5 separate regions of the Homo sapiens genome follow, and all the other regions are linked to region 1. Evidence: promoter capture Hi-C in 16 types of primary human blood cells and fetal thymus (Javierre and others, 2016). All regions are on one chromosome and are shown on one strand. Each heading gives the region's core, a stretch centred on a gene start or on the middle of the fragment in contact. The rest is flanking DNA. Distances are from core to core; before and after follow the strand shown. Region 1 holds the start of NDUFS1 (NADH:ubiquinone oxidoreductase core subunit S1). Region 2 holds the start of FAM117B (family with sequence similarity 117 member B). Region 3 holds the start of WDR12 (WD repeat domain 12). Region 4 has its middle 9.5 kb from the start of NBEAL1. Region 5 overlaps NBEAL1 (neurobeachin like 1).

Region 1 (2,682 bases), core at 55-2,554:
TTTTAGTAGAGACAGGGTTTCACCGTGTTAGCCAGGATGGTCTCGATCTCCTGGCCTCGTGATCCGCCCGCCTCGGCCTCCCAAAGTGGTGGGATTACAGGAGTGAGCCACCGCCTCCGGCCTTCAATAGCTTAACAGGTCACCAAGCTTCCACACTATTCCCACACAGCCTCTCCCCTCTTGCCACCGGCTGTGACCTCAGACTGAAATGCTCTTCCCTGGCCCCTCCTTATCCTTCAAATCTTGGCTTAAAAGCCTTTTCTCAGTTTCATTGACCAGGCTATCTAACATTTACGATTCCCCCAGCATATCATCCATTTTATTCTTCTTTACGGACTCATTTCTGGCTCGTAGTAAATGTTCAATAACGGTTAAGTGAACTGAATCTCTAATTTCTGGTCGTTAATTTGTAGAGACCACTTTCCCGGATTTAAAAAGTGCAGGTGCTCTGGCAGCCTTAAGTCGGTGAAAACAAGAATATTCCGCAAAACAAAAATAACTTGTTTATTCATCAAAAACAGTTAACGTTACACTTCTATACCGTCAATTCGTGTGTGAACAGAGTTGTGTCTGATCCAAGACCTTACAGTTCAAGCACTGGATCCCAATAACCTGTAAACAACGTTTTGTTATTTGCAATGCAATCCTGGGCTAACTTTTCAAAAGTCGTTTTTCTCAATTTCCCGTTAGTTAAAGGAATAAAAAAATGCTGTCCAACGTGGTCAATGGACCAAACAAACAAGGACAACAAACAGAAGCGTGAGCCATTGCTAACACAACAGCGACCAAACAATCATGCACTGTATCAGGCGTGTAAAAATCTGGGGGGAAAGGCTTAGTCTTAAGGCCTAAGTCATCGGACACTGGTCCTCTCCCGGGGAATAAAACGGCCTCCTCCTCTGAGAGGGAAATGTCCTGAATTTTCCCTGCAGAGGGAAGGTCACCTGCAAGCCTACATTCGTGACAGCGTTCCCGAGGACCCCCTGATCCTCATCTTCTTTTCTGCTTCATCAGACCAGAGACCGTGGCTAAAAGCCCCCCATCTGCCGGCTCTCAGGGGCTTCCGAGGCGGCGGGGCGGGAGGCGGCGCCCAGTCAAGGACAACAGAAGACTACGTCGCGTGGGCCAAAGGAAACAGTCCCGTCAATAAATAAGCCTCTGGCCGACGCACCTCACCCTTCCCATCCATACAAGACCTCACCTTCTCCCCGGAGCCGCGGAGGCTGTTCTGCTAAACTGTCTGGACCACGACGACCCCCTAGGAGGCCGGGTCGCTTATTCAATATGGCGGCCTCGGCTAACTCTGTCAGCCGGGCCTGGAGAACGGAAAGCCCGGAGGGACTAGAATCCTTGCATTCGACAAGTTTGTCGGCAATTTCCGTCAGCCGACCAGAGGGCGGAGCTGAGGTCGGCCCAGCCCGGAGGCGGGAAGGACAACTTGGACCCGCAGTTCCGCCGGAAGTGGCCCCAGCCTCGAGGCCGGGCGTCTTCGGTCATCTCCGGCGCTTCTAGGGCTGGTTCCCGTCATCTTCGGGAGCCGTGGAGGTACGAACTTAAGACATGCCTATTTTATTAATTTACTTCCAAACGCAACGAAAGGTCCATGGACAATTTGTGGGCCATTTAATTCAGGGCCCCCAATTCGTACGTGGAGAAGTGGGAATGCAAAAGTACTTTGACCTTTAACCTTCGGTCCGGCGCGGTGGAGGGAAACGCCTCCGTCTCTATATAAGGAATTTTCCGGTCTCTTCGGGTCCTTTTTCCTCTCTTCAGCGTGGGGCGCCCACAATTTGCGCGCTCTCTTTCTGCTGCTCCCCAGCTCTCGGATACAGCCGACACCATGGGTTTCGGAGACCTGAAAAGCCCTGCCGGCCTCCAGGTGCTCAACGATTACCTGGCGGACAAGAGCTACATCGAGGGGTGAGCGGACGGGCTGAGTCGGGGTGGCGGGGAGGTTTCTCCGCCCGGGGCCGGGGCCACGTGGCGCAGCGTGTCGGCTGCCGCGGGAGGGAGGGAGGCCGGGCCCGGGGCCCTTTCGAGAGGGAGGGGAAAGCGCCCCGTTGCCGTCTCCCAAGGCCCTCGTGTGGGGCGAGCCCGGCCTCCGGGGAGCGGTTCACGAGCAAGGAAAGGTTAAAATGTGCTTTATTTACACTTAATTCAGCCAGGTGTTTCCGCATCGCTGCCCAGTTAATACATGTTAAGCTGTAGATAGAGCAACGCCAGACATTGCAGTATTTGAGGTCTACTTAGTGGCAGACATTTCTCAGGATAGCGCGGTGACCCAAACATATGGTTTGATTTGAAGGAGCTAATAAGAAAAGAAAAGCATTAAAGCAACCCTGCTGGGGTTAGTGCCCACTAATTAATGTGATGCATACGGTATTTATTATTTATTCGCTGGCGTTTGTTTTTCAAAGGTGTGTGTGAATGTTTCTGTGTCCTTGGCAGGTATGTGCCATCACAAGCAGATGTGGCAGTATTTGAAGCCGTGTCCAGCCCACCGCCTGCCGACTTGTGTCATGCCCTACGTTGGTATAATCACATCAAGTCTTACGAAAAGGAAAAGGCCAGGTAAAATCATCTTTGTATAGAGCTGAAGAATAAGACTGCTCTCGAAGTTTATCAGGATGTTCACATGACAAAACTGGACCCAGGCTACTTTAGTTTTGTTGGGATATTGTA
Region 2 (2,682 bases), core at 138-2,637, 3.5 Mb before region 1:
GAGATCAAGAGATCAAGACCACCCTGGCCAACATGGTGAAACCGCCTCTTTACTAAAAACAGAAAAATTACGGGGCGTGGCGGCACGCGCCTGTAATCCCAGCTACTTGGGAGGCGGAGGCAGGAGAATTGCTTGAACGCGGGAGGCGGAGGTTGCACTGAGCCGAGATTCGAGCCAGTGCACTCCGCCACTGCACTCCAGCCTAGGTGACAGAGAGAGACTTCTTCTCAAAAAAAAAAAAAAAAGGCCTTCCACCACCGCGCAAAGGGACCCAGTAGGATTTCAGGTCCAGAGTGAATCATACTATGCCCTCCACTCCCACATTTTTACACGACGAAATCTGTCTAGCATGTACAACTAATAAAAATAGTAGAGGGAAAAGAGGTCATGGATAGGCAATTTATAGCCAGACAGGTGGGAGTGTAGGTTTTGGCTCCACCATTTTTTATTTTCTTGATGAGGAGCCCTTTAGGTCATTTTAGAAATAGTGTCACTGCCTGCCTTCCCGAGTCTTTGCCACACCAAAGACTTGTTTCCTCCGCTAGACAAAAATATGGATGGCTGTCCCAGTTCTGTCTCAAACAATGATCGTGTAGAATCAAATAAGGCCCTCTGTAAACTATAGCACTTTACAAACTGGTAAGGTAGCAGCCATCCTTCCAAGGTATCAGGGAACAGCGAAGCAGCTGATTAAAATAGTCTTGATTACTTGAGATACAGGAGGGTAGGAATAACATGTGGTAACTGAACTCTATAGATACTATCTAAAATCGCATTCTAACAGGCAAGTTTAATCTTTCTGAGATTTGCCTCTTTGTAGAGCTCTAAAAAATAAAAGGAGAGGGGCGTAAAATGCCAGTAAGATTAGTTAAATTTCTTCTCCTTTTGAGCCCTGCCCATAGGTAGATGGAATTAGGGCAGAACAAAAACATTAAGAATAAAAGCCCGAACGAGATGCGCGTACAGGTGAACACAAGTGAACACTGGGGTAAGGAAATGAGTTATGCGGAAAAGGCTTCAGACCATCCCTGGGAACTGCTCCGGGTCTGGACATTTCCTTTGGCAACCTTCCAGAGTCTGAGTCCCCAGGGCTCCCCCCGGCGGGAAAGGAAAGGCGCGCGTGGCTAGGCGCGCGCGTACACGGGCACTCACGTGTACACACACACGCGCGCACACTACACATACACACAGGGCCCATTTCCTCCGCTCCCTCCCCGCGGGGGGCGGGTCTCTTTCTCTTTAAAGAGCAGACGGTCTCCGCGCACACCCAGGCTCTCAAGGCCTCGGGGGCCCGGGACCCGAGCTGCTCGTAGCCAATGGGAGCAGTGGAGCGGCTCGAGCGCGGCTGACGCTGCACCAATGGGCGATCGTGGGGGGCGGGGGCAGCAGAGGAGACACTATTGTTGATGAGGAGCGGCGGCGGCGGCGGCGGCGGCTGCACCACCTCGTTGCTGCCTGCCCCGGCCCGGTCTCCCCCTGCACCCCGGAGTCCGGCTTCGTCACCCCGTCTTGGGGGGCCTGCCCTCCGGCCTCGAGAATCCTCCCCCTGCAGCCCAACAACAACAAAACCCCCCGTCTCGCCCAGTCACCGGGGAGGGGGGGGACCATGTCCCAGCGGGTGAGGCGCAATGGGTCCCCCACGCCGGCCGGCTCCCTTGGGGGTGGTGCGGTGGCCACGGCCGGGGGACCCGGGAGCCGCTTGCAGCCCATGAGGGCGACGGTTCCGTTCCAGCTGAAGCAGCAGCAGCAGCAGCAACATGGCAGCCCCACGCGGAGCGGCGGCGGCGGCGGCGGCAACAACAACGGTGGCTGCTGTGGTGGCGCCTCAGGCCCCGCAGGCGGCGGCGGCGGCGGTGGCCCGCGCACCGCCTCGCGCAGCACCAGCCCCACGCGCGGCGGCGGGAACGCGGCCGCGCGCACCAGCCCCACGGTGGCCACGCAGACGGGCGCGTCCGCGACGTCCACGCGAGGCACCAGCCCCACGCGCAGCGCCGCGCCTGGAGCTCGCGGGAGCCCCCCACGGCCGCCGCCGCCGCCGCCGCTGCTGGGCACCGTGTCGTCGCCCAGCTCGTCGCCCACCCACCTGTGGACCGGCGAGGTGAGCGCGGCCCCACCCCCAGCCCGCGTCCGGCATCGGAGGAGGTCTCCGGAGCAGAGCCGAAGCTCGCCGGAGAAGAGGAGCCCCAGCGCCCCGGTTTGCAAAGCAGGTAAGTGCTGGGGGTCGCGCAGCAAGGGGGAGGCGGCTGCGGGAAGGGGTCCCGGGCGCGCGCTGCAATCGCGCGGGGACTGCAGAGCTGCCGCGGAGCCCGGGTGGCTGGGGGCGGGGCTGGGGGCGGTGCCGGGCGGTGGGGGACCCGGCAGTGCGGCCCCGCCTTTCCCGGGCCTACCCTACGCCCCGCCCGCCCGCCCGCCTCATTCACCCCTCTGCCCGCCCCGCACGGCTCCCTGGTGGTGGAGGTGCAGCGGCTAAACCTTGGGCTTGAGCTGATGAGTGTTAATGATAAACCTGGCTTCCTGGCCTTACTCCTGGAGGAGTCGTTACTGCTTACCCTCCCTTGAGGGTGAGGCTAGGAGTGGTTTGTCACTTTGTTTTAGGGACAAGGTTAATGTTGGCATAGCCCATATCTGCTGCTGCTAAGTATTTCTGTTCACAAAACAGTTTCAGATCTGGGGTACTGAATG
Region 3 (2,682 bases), core at 47-2,546, 3.2 Mb before region 1:
GCCAGGCTTGGTGGCACATGCCTGTAATTCCAGCTACTCTGGAGGCTGAGGCGGGAAGATTGTTTGAACCCGGGAGACAGAGGTTACAGTGAGCCAAGATCCCACCACTGCAGTCCAGCCTGGGCAACAGAGTGAGACTCTGTCTCCAAAAAAACCAAACCAAACAAACAAAAAAAAGCCCCACATATTTCAAAAAATTTTATTTTAAGAAAAACAAAAAAACCTACTTTCAATTAAAAAACACAGTGGTTATGTTAATGCATCACCACATTCCTAGAGAAGTATTAAGGCAATGTATGTAAGTAAGTACATATACTCAGGTGCATTGATAATACGATTTATGTATACTTTCAGCAACAACACAAGGGGAGAGAAGATGATTTACTAGCTCTCCTCATAAAGCTACAAACAAAACCACAGATGTAACTCAGGTGGGAGTTTCCTAGTTTATGGCTAACTTTAGCTTATTAACACGACAAATATTATCATTTTCACTGAAAAATTTGACATTTTTTGTTGACTCAGCCAATCCAAGAAGCTTAATTAATATATAGTCCCTGCCCTCAAGAGACTTCCAATATAGTTGGAAGAGACCAGGCAAACACAAAGAAAGCTAACAATGCAATATATACCACAAGGCAGCATATAATTAGTTTTCGAATGAGTGCTAACAGACCTTGAGACCACTGGTTAAAATGTTTATATATCTATATAGATATACATAAATGGTAAATATGTTTTTTCATTTTCAAAAACTTTTTTTCCGTTTTCAAAAACTGTGAACCACCACTAGCAGACACCCTATAACAAGGCCCACTGTTCATTTTTAAATTACACATATAAAATGTTTCATTCAGAAAGCAAACCTGAAGCCCTTCAGCCTCCTCCACACTCACAATTCAAATTATATAGAACCTACGAAGCTGGTTAGAAAGCAGGTAATCTCAGAAAAAAGGGTGGGGGTGACAGCAGAAACAACCAGGGATCCACAAGGTCATACCAAAGGGGTGGTCGGAAAGGAACCTGGGGAAGGGAGAGAAGGCTGGAACGCTTACTTACTTCTTGTTATCAGTGTAGAAGCGTGTTTGGAGCTGAGCCATGGCGAGGAGTACACACGACTTGCCCACGGAAACGTACGGGTTAGCAGACCCACAACACGAAGCTCCTGCCTTTTAAGACTACAAAGAGGCAGCTCAAAATTAGACTGCACAGGTAAGCGAGGAACTGCAGTCTAAGCCTGGACTCTGCCTTCTGCCCTCCGGTCTCCTCTGCAGAAAGCACGAGGTTGCCCTTCTACAGACGCCCAGACCACAAACATCGACTACCTACTCCTAGATTTAGGAGTCATCGATTAGAAAAGGATAGTCGTAAAGGTAGCATGTCCCTTTAATCATTGTTAGAATTCTTCCCATACGTGTGGGCCCGTAATCGATTAGGAAAAAGATCCCACTCAAATCCGCTTTATTAATAAAAAATTTTTTTTCAAGAGGCTGTCCTGAGCCTGGATAGTTCAAACACAGCTCCTAGTTACTACAAGTCTCAGAAAGCATCGCTTCTCAAACGCTGTGACCACCGGGAATTGTAGTCTTTTTTTGCCACGCTGCCCTCAGAGTATCTTATTTGCATTAAATCCTCTAGACTCCAGCCAGATATCAAATTTCCTCTGCCTTCAGCTTTGCTTGACTAACGCCTTGCCAGTTTTTTTTTCTCATACATATTCCCAACCAGAGGCTCACTCGGCAGAGGTTTTTCCTAAATCTCGCCTCTAACTGCGGCTTTTAGAGAGAGGCGAGAGGCGGAAATACAAAGAAAAGAACGGATGAGAGAGGAAACGGTCGACGGTGGCCGATAGTGGTCCTACTGTCGTGGGACTGCTCTGCGCGCTCCCGGTGGGGCGCGCCTGCGCATTATGCTGGTCTCCATGGCGGGGCCTCGGAGCCAAGACGAGGTTGAGTAGACTCGTTTTGAATTTTCTCCCCTCTGCTCCGGCGGACTTCCCATGTCGCCTTGTGGGGCTATCGGCGGCGGCAGGACTGGGGGAGTCAGAGGTCTGGCAGCGCTGTCTGCGCAGACCTACCGGACGCTACCTCCCAACCCCCCGTCTTCCTCCTGCCTCCTCCTCCTCCCGTCACCTCCTGACCCGCCGGAGCTCCGAGCAACTGCCGGCCTCCGCCCCCAGCCGCAGCCGGTCACTGGCGGCGCCTTCCGCGCCAAGCTTGGGGGCCTTTTCGGGGTCCCACATGGCACGGCTTCCGACCCCCGGCCCGGGACGGGGCTCGCAGGCCCCAGAGGGGCAGGCTGGAGAAGGAGGAGGTTAGGTGTCTTCAGGAGGGTTGCTGAGCCCAAGGACGCGCCATCGCCGCGGAGAAGGAGCCGGACCCCTTGGGCGGAGCGCCCAATGTGTGGTCCCTCACGCCGTCCCGCACCTTGCTTTTTAGGGTTCTTTTTCCGCTTTCTGAGCCCTTTTATACCTTACGTTTAGAAGGGGAAAATCATCCTCCCACACCTTCTCCCCGACTTTTTGCCTTTTTTGTCTTGAAGTTACCCAAAGGCCTGTGTATTGTTCTCAATGGTCCCAAGAATTACTCTAATATAGTTGTTTTTCTGAGGGAGGATGGATGGAGATAACTATCCTGATCCCAATGTCACTTTTTAAGGCATTCGCTTCAAGAGACAAGCAGT
Region 4 (2,682 bases), core at 47-2,546, 3.2 Mb before region 1:
AAAACAAAAACAAAAACAAAAATTAGCCGGGTGCGGTGGCACGTGCCTGTAATCCCAACTACTCGGGAGGCTGAGGCAGGAGAATTGCTTGAGCACGGGAGGCGGAGGTTGCGGTGAGCCAAGATTGTGCCATTACACTCCAGCCTGGGTTACAGAGTGAGACTCCATCTCAAAAAAAAGAAAAGAAAAAATTATTACAAAGCATCCTAAAAGGCAAAAAACAACCTGAAGACATAAGGCAAAGATCAGAACCAAATTCATATAAGACAGGCATGTTGAAATTACCAGACTGAGAATTTAAAACAACTATGATTAATATGCTAAGGGCTCTAATGGATAAAGCAGACAGCATGCAAGAACGGATGGGCAATGTAAGCAGAGATGTAAATTCTAAGAAAGAATTTTTAAAATGCTACAGATCAAAAACACTATAACAGAAATGAAGAATCCTCCTTAGTAGACTGAATGAAGATGAGCTCATTAGTAAACTGGACATGGCTAAGAGAACATTTCTGAGTTTGAGAATATGTCAATAGAAACCTCCAAAATGGAAAAGCAAAGAGAAAAAAGACAGAATAAAATGATTCAGAACATCCAAGAACTGTGGAATAACTACAAAAGGTATAAATGTGTGTGATAGGAATACCAGAAGGAAAAAAAAGGAAGCGAAGCATATTTCAAGCAACAGTGACAGAGAATCTTCCCAAATTGGCAATAGACACCAAACCAGAGATCCAGAAAGCACAGAGAACACCAAGCAGGATAAGTGGTTTAAAAAAACTACACCTAGGCTATCATTTTCAAATTACAGAAAATCAAAGATAAAGAGAAAATCCTGAAGGAAGCCAGAGGAAAACAAACAGCTTTCTATGCAGGAGCAAGATAAGGATTATATCCAACTTCTCATCAGAAATCATGCAATCAAGAAGACAGTGGAGTAAAACATTTAACATATTGAGAGAAAAAAAAAAAACACCAGCCTAGAATTCTGTATCCCATAAGATTATCATATAAAAGTGAAACACAAAGACTTTCTCAGATGAACAGAACAATATTTGAGGGAATTTGTTGCCAACAGACCTTCCTTATAAGAAATAATTAAAAGAACTTCTTGAGAAAGAAGGAAAATGACACATAGGTCAGAAACTCTCTGCATAAATAAATGAAGAGCATCAGAGAAATAATAAGTGAATATAAAATATAAACTCTTATTTTTCTTATTCTCAGTTAATCTAACAGACAACAGTTTGTTCAAAATAATACTAGGCAACAATGTAATTGTGTGTGTGTGTATACACACAATTGCTTAGGTGTAAGTGAATGGCAGAAATGACATAAGGAACAGGAGAGAGGAATTAGGAATGATTAGGAATGTTTTGTGATAAGGTTCTTGCAATATCTGTGAATTGGTATAGTGCTATTGGAAAGTGAACTTGGAGTAGTTGTAAATGTATACTGCAAACTCTAGGACAACCACTAAATAAGGTAGGAAAAAAAAAAAAGAGTAAAACTGGGCCGGGCACAGTGGCTCACACCTGTAATCCCAGCACTTTGGGAGGCCAAGGTGGGTGGATCACCTAAGGTCAGGAGTTCGAGACCAGCCTGGCCAACATGGGGAAACCCCATCTCTACTAAAAATACAAAAATTAGCTGGGCATTGTGGTGGGCGCCTGTAATCCCAGCTACTTGGGAGGCTGAAGCAGAATTGTTTGAACCTGGGAGGCAGAGGTTGCAGTGAGCCGAGATCGCGCCACCACACTCCAGCCTGGGTGACAAGAGCAAAACTCCGTCTCAAAAAAAAAAAAAAAGGTAAAACTGATATGCTACAAAAGTAGAGGAAATGGAATCATATTAAATAATTAAGATTTTAAAAGGCACTGGCCGAGTGCCATGGCTCATGCCTATAATCCCACCACTTTGGGAGGCCAAGGTGGGAGGGTCATTTGAATCCAGGAGTTCAAGACCAGCCTGAGCAACATAGCAAGACCCTGTCTCTACAAAAAATACAAAAGTTAACTGGGCATGGTGGAGTGTGCCTGCAGTGCCAAATACCTGGGAGGTGGAGGTGGGCAGATCACTCGAGCCAAGGAGTTTGAGATTGCAGTGAGCCATGATCATGCCACTGCATTCCAGCCTATGCAACAAAGACCCTGTCTCAAAAAAAAAAATTTAAAAAAAAAATATATATATATGTAAAAGGCAGAAAAAGAGTGAAAGACAAAAATAGGAACAAAGAATAAGTACAATGTATAGGAAACAGTAATGAATATGGTATACATCAATCCAACTATGTCAATAATCACTTTATATGTTAATGGTCTAAATATGTCATTTAAAAGACATAATGGATCAAAAAACAAGACCCAATTATATATTATCTACAAGAAACCCACTTTAAATATAAAAACACATATAGATTAAAAGTAAATGGGTAAAGAAAAACATACCACGTTAATACTAATCAAAAGAAAGAGGAAGTAAACATATTAATTTCAGACAGAGCAGACTTCAGAACAAGGAAAGTTATCAGTGATAAAGAGGACCATTACATAATGATAAAGGGGTCATTTCTCCAAGAAGACATAACAATCCTTAACACATATTTCCCTAACAACAGATATCAAAATATGTGAGGCAAAAACTGATAGAACTCCAAGGAGAAATGGATGAATCCACTATTAT
Region 5 (2,682 bases), core at 136-2,635, 3.1 Mb before region 1:
GATGGACCAATACATATCAACCCTTATAATTTAAGCCACATTTAGTAAGTCTCTGGTATGTGCAAAGTGTGAAAATGGCTCTTGATTTTCTGTGGCTTAATAACAGCTTTGTATGTAAGGAAGGTAATGTTCTTTGACTCTAAAGAAAAGAAAACAAAATCATTGACAGCCTAGTACTAGTAGTTACCACTTACATGTTTATTTTCAGAATTTAGGTATGAAAGCAAGAAATGTATAGTTTATATCAGTGGACCTGAAATGAAAAACGTTGTTAAGATGCATTAACTTTTTAAATTCTTTCCTTTTGAGCATCAAACTTTAAATTTCCCTGGAAGAAGGTGAAATTGATAGTACTTAAGTGTAAGTGTGGAGTATAATGTGCAGATGTGTAAGAGTCTGAAATAATTTCTTGTGTGTTTTTTTTTTTTCTGTTTGTTTCGGACAAAAAAAAACACCGTGGTCTTCCCATGCACAGTTAGCTAGACAAGATCACTAACTAGGTTTTCAGGTAAGCATGCTGACTTTTCCATGTTTGTGGGACATTCAGGTAGAAATACTCAATATGTGGAGTTCAGAAGAGAGGTCTGTGCTGGAAATAAAGATTTGAGAGTTCTCATATTGGGAATTATTGGAGGGTTATTATGAGAATAAGAAGAGAAGAAGGTAAAAGGAAGCCCTGAAGAACATTGTCATTTAAGAAGAAGACAGAGTTTTGGAACCAGTCTGGGCAAAACAGTGAGATCACGTCTCTGTTATTTAAATAAATAAATAAATAGGTGACAGAGGAAGAAGAGTTTGTAAGTTTAAATGAGAGAGGAGCCAGGAGTGACTGGGTTGCCTCAGAAAGTACAGGGATATTGGCTGGGTGCAGTGGCTCATGCCTATAATTCTAGCTCTTTGGGAGGGCAGGGTGGGAGATTTGCTTGAGCTCGGGAGTTTCAGTCTACAGTGAGCTGGGATCATGCCACTCTAGTCCAGCCTGGGTGACAGAGTAAGACTCTTTCTCACACAAAAAAAAAAAAAGAAAAAAAGAAAAAAGTAGTCAGGGGTGTCAAATTCAACATGGCAGTCAAGAAAAGTATTACGGTCCGCATCTGGTGGTTCACACCTGTAATCCCAGCATTTTGGGAGGCCAAGGTGGGAGGATCATTTGAGGTCAGGAGTTTGAGACCAGCCTGGCCAACATGATGTAACCTCATCTCTACTGAAAATACAAAAGTTAGCTGGGTGGGGTGGCATGCACCTGTAATCGCAGCTACTTAGGAGGCAAGAGAATCACTTGAATCCAAGAGGCCGGGGTTGCAGTGGGTCAAATTTGTGCCACTGCACTCCAGCCTGGGCAATAGAGTGAGACTCTGTCTCAAAAAAAAAAAAAGAAAAAAAGAAAAGCATTATGGAGCATGTATTGGATTTGACAGTTTACATATTATTGGCGGCCTGAGGTGGGCAGATCACTTGAGGCCAGGAGTTCGAGACTAGCCTGGCCAAAATGGTGAAACCCGTCTCTACTAAAAATACAAAAATTAGCTGTGTATGGTGGTGCAGGCCTGTGGTCCCAGCTACTCAGGAGGCTGAGGCAGGAGAATCGCTTGAACCTGGGGGGCGGAGACTGTAGTGAGCCGAGATCGCACCACTGTACTCCAGTCTGGGCAACAGAGCGAGACTCTGTCTGAAATAAATAAATAAATAAATACATACATACATACATAAATTGATGGCTTTTCCAAAAGCAGTTCTGAAAAGAATGAAAAAGTTAAAAATGCAAGTCCTTATATTATTAATTTTTTATTATTAAATTCAACAGACTTAAAATTACTACCAAACTGCTACTAAAGTTTGTAGATAGATGTTTCCTCTTTATCTTTGTACTAACCTGGCCAAGGACCTTTATTGGTCTGTGTACCACACTTTGTGTGGCACTGCTGTAGAACATCTGAAAATTCTCAGATACCTTAGAATCCATCTGTAAATCCAGAGATCTGTAATTTGAAACATATTGCTTTATAAATTGAACTGTCACTGATGATCCCTTGGTAGCAATCCAAATGTGACCTTTGAAATCGAGTAGCAATACTAGTCGCGAGGTAGTTTTCCCTAATATGCTTAAAGTAATTTAAAAATTAATAAAAACAGGAGTGCAAACTTTAAAAATTTCTATATGGAGCTTATAGACCTCTGAAAATATTTCTGATAACTCCGAGCATTCTCGGACCTTAGTTTTAGAAACAAGTCTTGAACAATTATTATATCTGAAATACTTTGATTGCTCTACATTTGCTACAGCTTTTTTTTCCTTTCTGCAAAATTACGTTGCAAGTTTTGTTACAAGCAAGTAAAGAATTGGGACCAAAGATCCAATCTACTGCAGTCTTCTTTCTAGGCACAATTATTCATATTTCTCCTATATGCAAAATGTACTTCATATCTATCTCAAGAACTCCAAAACTCTCATCCAATCATGACACCAGTCTTGAAACATGGGATCTGTGGTATATATAGATCCAATTGTGGTTTTTCTTGATATTATGGTCTGTGAACTCAGAGGACACTTGGTATCTGTCCTCTGCAAATCCAGTTGGGCAAATATTGCCTGGTTTCTCTATCCTCAGGGAAGAAATGTTCCATGATATGAGTCAGTACCTGCCCTGGCTACTCTTCTCTCTTGCTCTTGGCTGTGTTTTC

What was found. Contacts are between HindIII fragments. The CHiCAGO score rates a contact against its expected background, and 5 or more counts as called.
Region 2: a contact is called between the fragment with the promoter of FAM117B here and the fragment with the promoter of NDUFS1 in region 1, in 1 of 17 cell types (total CD8 T cells). The highest score is 6.4, in total CD8 T cells.
Region 3: the fragment with the promoter of WDR12 here is called in contact with the fragment with the promoter of NDUFS1 in region 1 in 1 of 17 cell types (activated CD4 T cells); the score reaches 5.1 in activated CD4 T cells.
Region 4: a contact is called between a fragment that was not itself captured here and the fragment with the promoter of NDUFS1 in region 1, in 1 of 17 cell types (neutrophils). The highest score is 6.4, in neutrophils.
Region 5: a contact is called between a fragment that was not itself captured here and the fragment with the promoter of NDUFS1 in region 1, in 1 of 17 cell types (neutrophils). The highest score is 5.3, in neutrophils.

The regions. Positions count from the first base shown.
Region 1 is chr2:206,158,140-206,160,821 of GRCh38, forward strand. NDUFS1 (NADH:ubiquinone oxidoreductase core subunit S1) reads right to left here and starts at 1,305. Exons shown (of 19, transcript NM_005006.7): 1 at 1,202-1,305. EEF1B2 (eukaryotic translation elongation factor 1 beta 2) reads left to right here and starts at 1,756. Exons shown (of 6, transcript NM_001959.4): 1 at 1,756-1,920; 2 at 2,449-2,571. The coding sequence starts at 1,841. RefSeq lists enhancers at 983-1,392, 1,503-1,762 and a silencer at 2,023-2,092. The HindIII fragment of the contact is 3,079 bases long and covers 146-2,682 here.
Region 2 is chr2:202,633,582-202,636,263 of GRCh38, forward strand. It overlaps FAM117B (family with sequence similarity 117 member B), which reads left to right and starts at 1,388. Exons shown (of 8, transcript NM_173511.4): 1 at 1,388-2,207. The coding sequence starts at 1,607. RefSeq lists silencers at 1,426-1,655, 1,846-1,895, 1,996-2,435. The HindIII fragment of the contact is 4,588 bases long and covers 1-2,682 here.
Region 3 is chr2:202,910,377-202,913,058 of GRCh38, forward strand. It overlaps WDR12 (WD repeat domain 12), which reads right to left and starts at 1,297. Exons shown (of 13, transcript NM_018256.4): 1 at 1,060-1,297. The coding sequence starts at 1,100. CARF (calcium responsive transcription factor) reads left to right here and starts at 1,899. Exons shown (of 17, transcript NM_024744.17): 1 at 1,899-2,682. RefSeq lists enhancers at 1,480-1,629, 1,640-1,789, 1,830-2,029, 2,130-2,179. The HindIII fragment of the contact is 1,677 bases long and covers 537-2,213 here.
Region 4 is chr2:203,004,049-203,006,730 of GRCh38, forward strand. No RefSeq gene overlaps it. Among named protein-coding and RNA genes, the nearest start is that of NBEAL1, 9.5 kb to the right of the region's middle. The HindIII fragment of the contact is 7,735 bases long and covers 1-2,682 here.
Region 5 is chr2:203,023,190-203,025,871 of GRCh38, forward strand. The region is part of intron 2 of NBEAL1 (neurobeachin like 1); the gene reads left to right. Among named protein-coding and RNA genes, the nearest start is that of NBEAL1, 9.7 kb to the left of the region's middle. The HindIII fragment of the contact is 9,447 bases long and covers 1-2,682 here.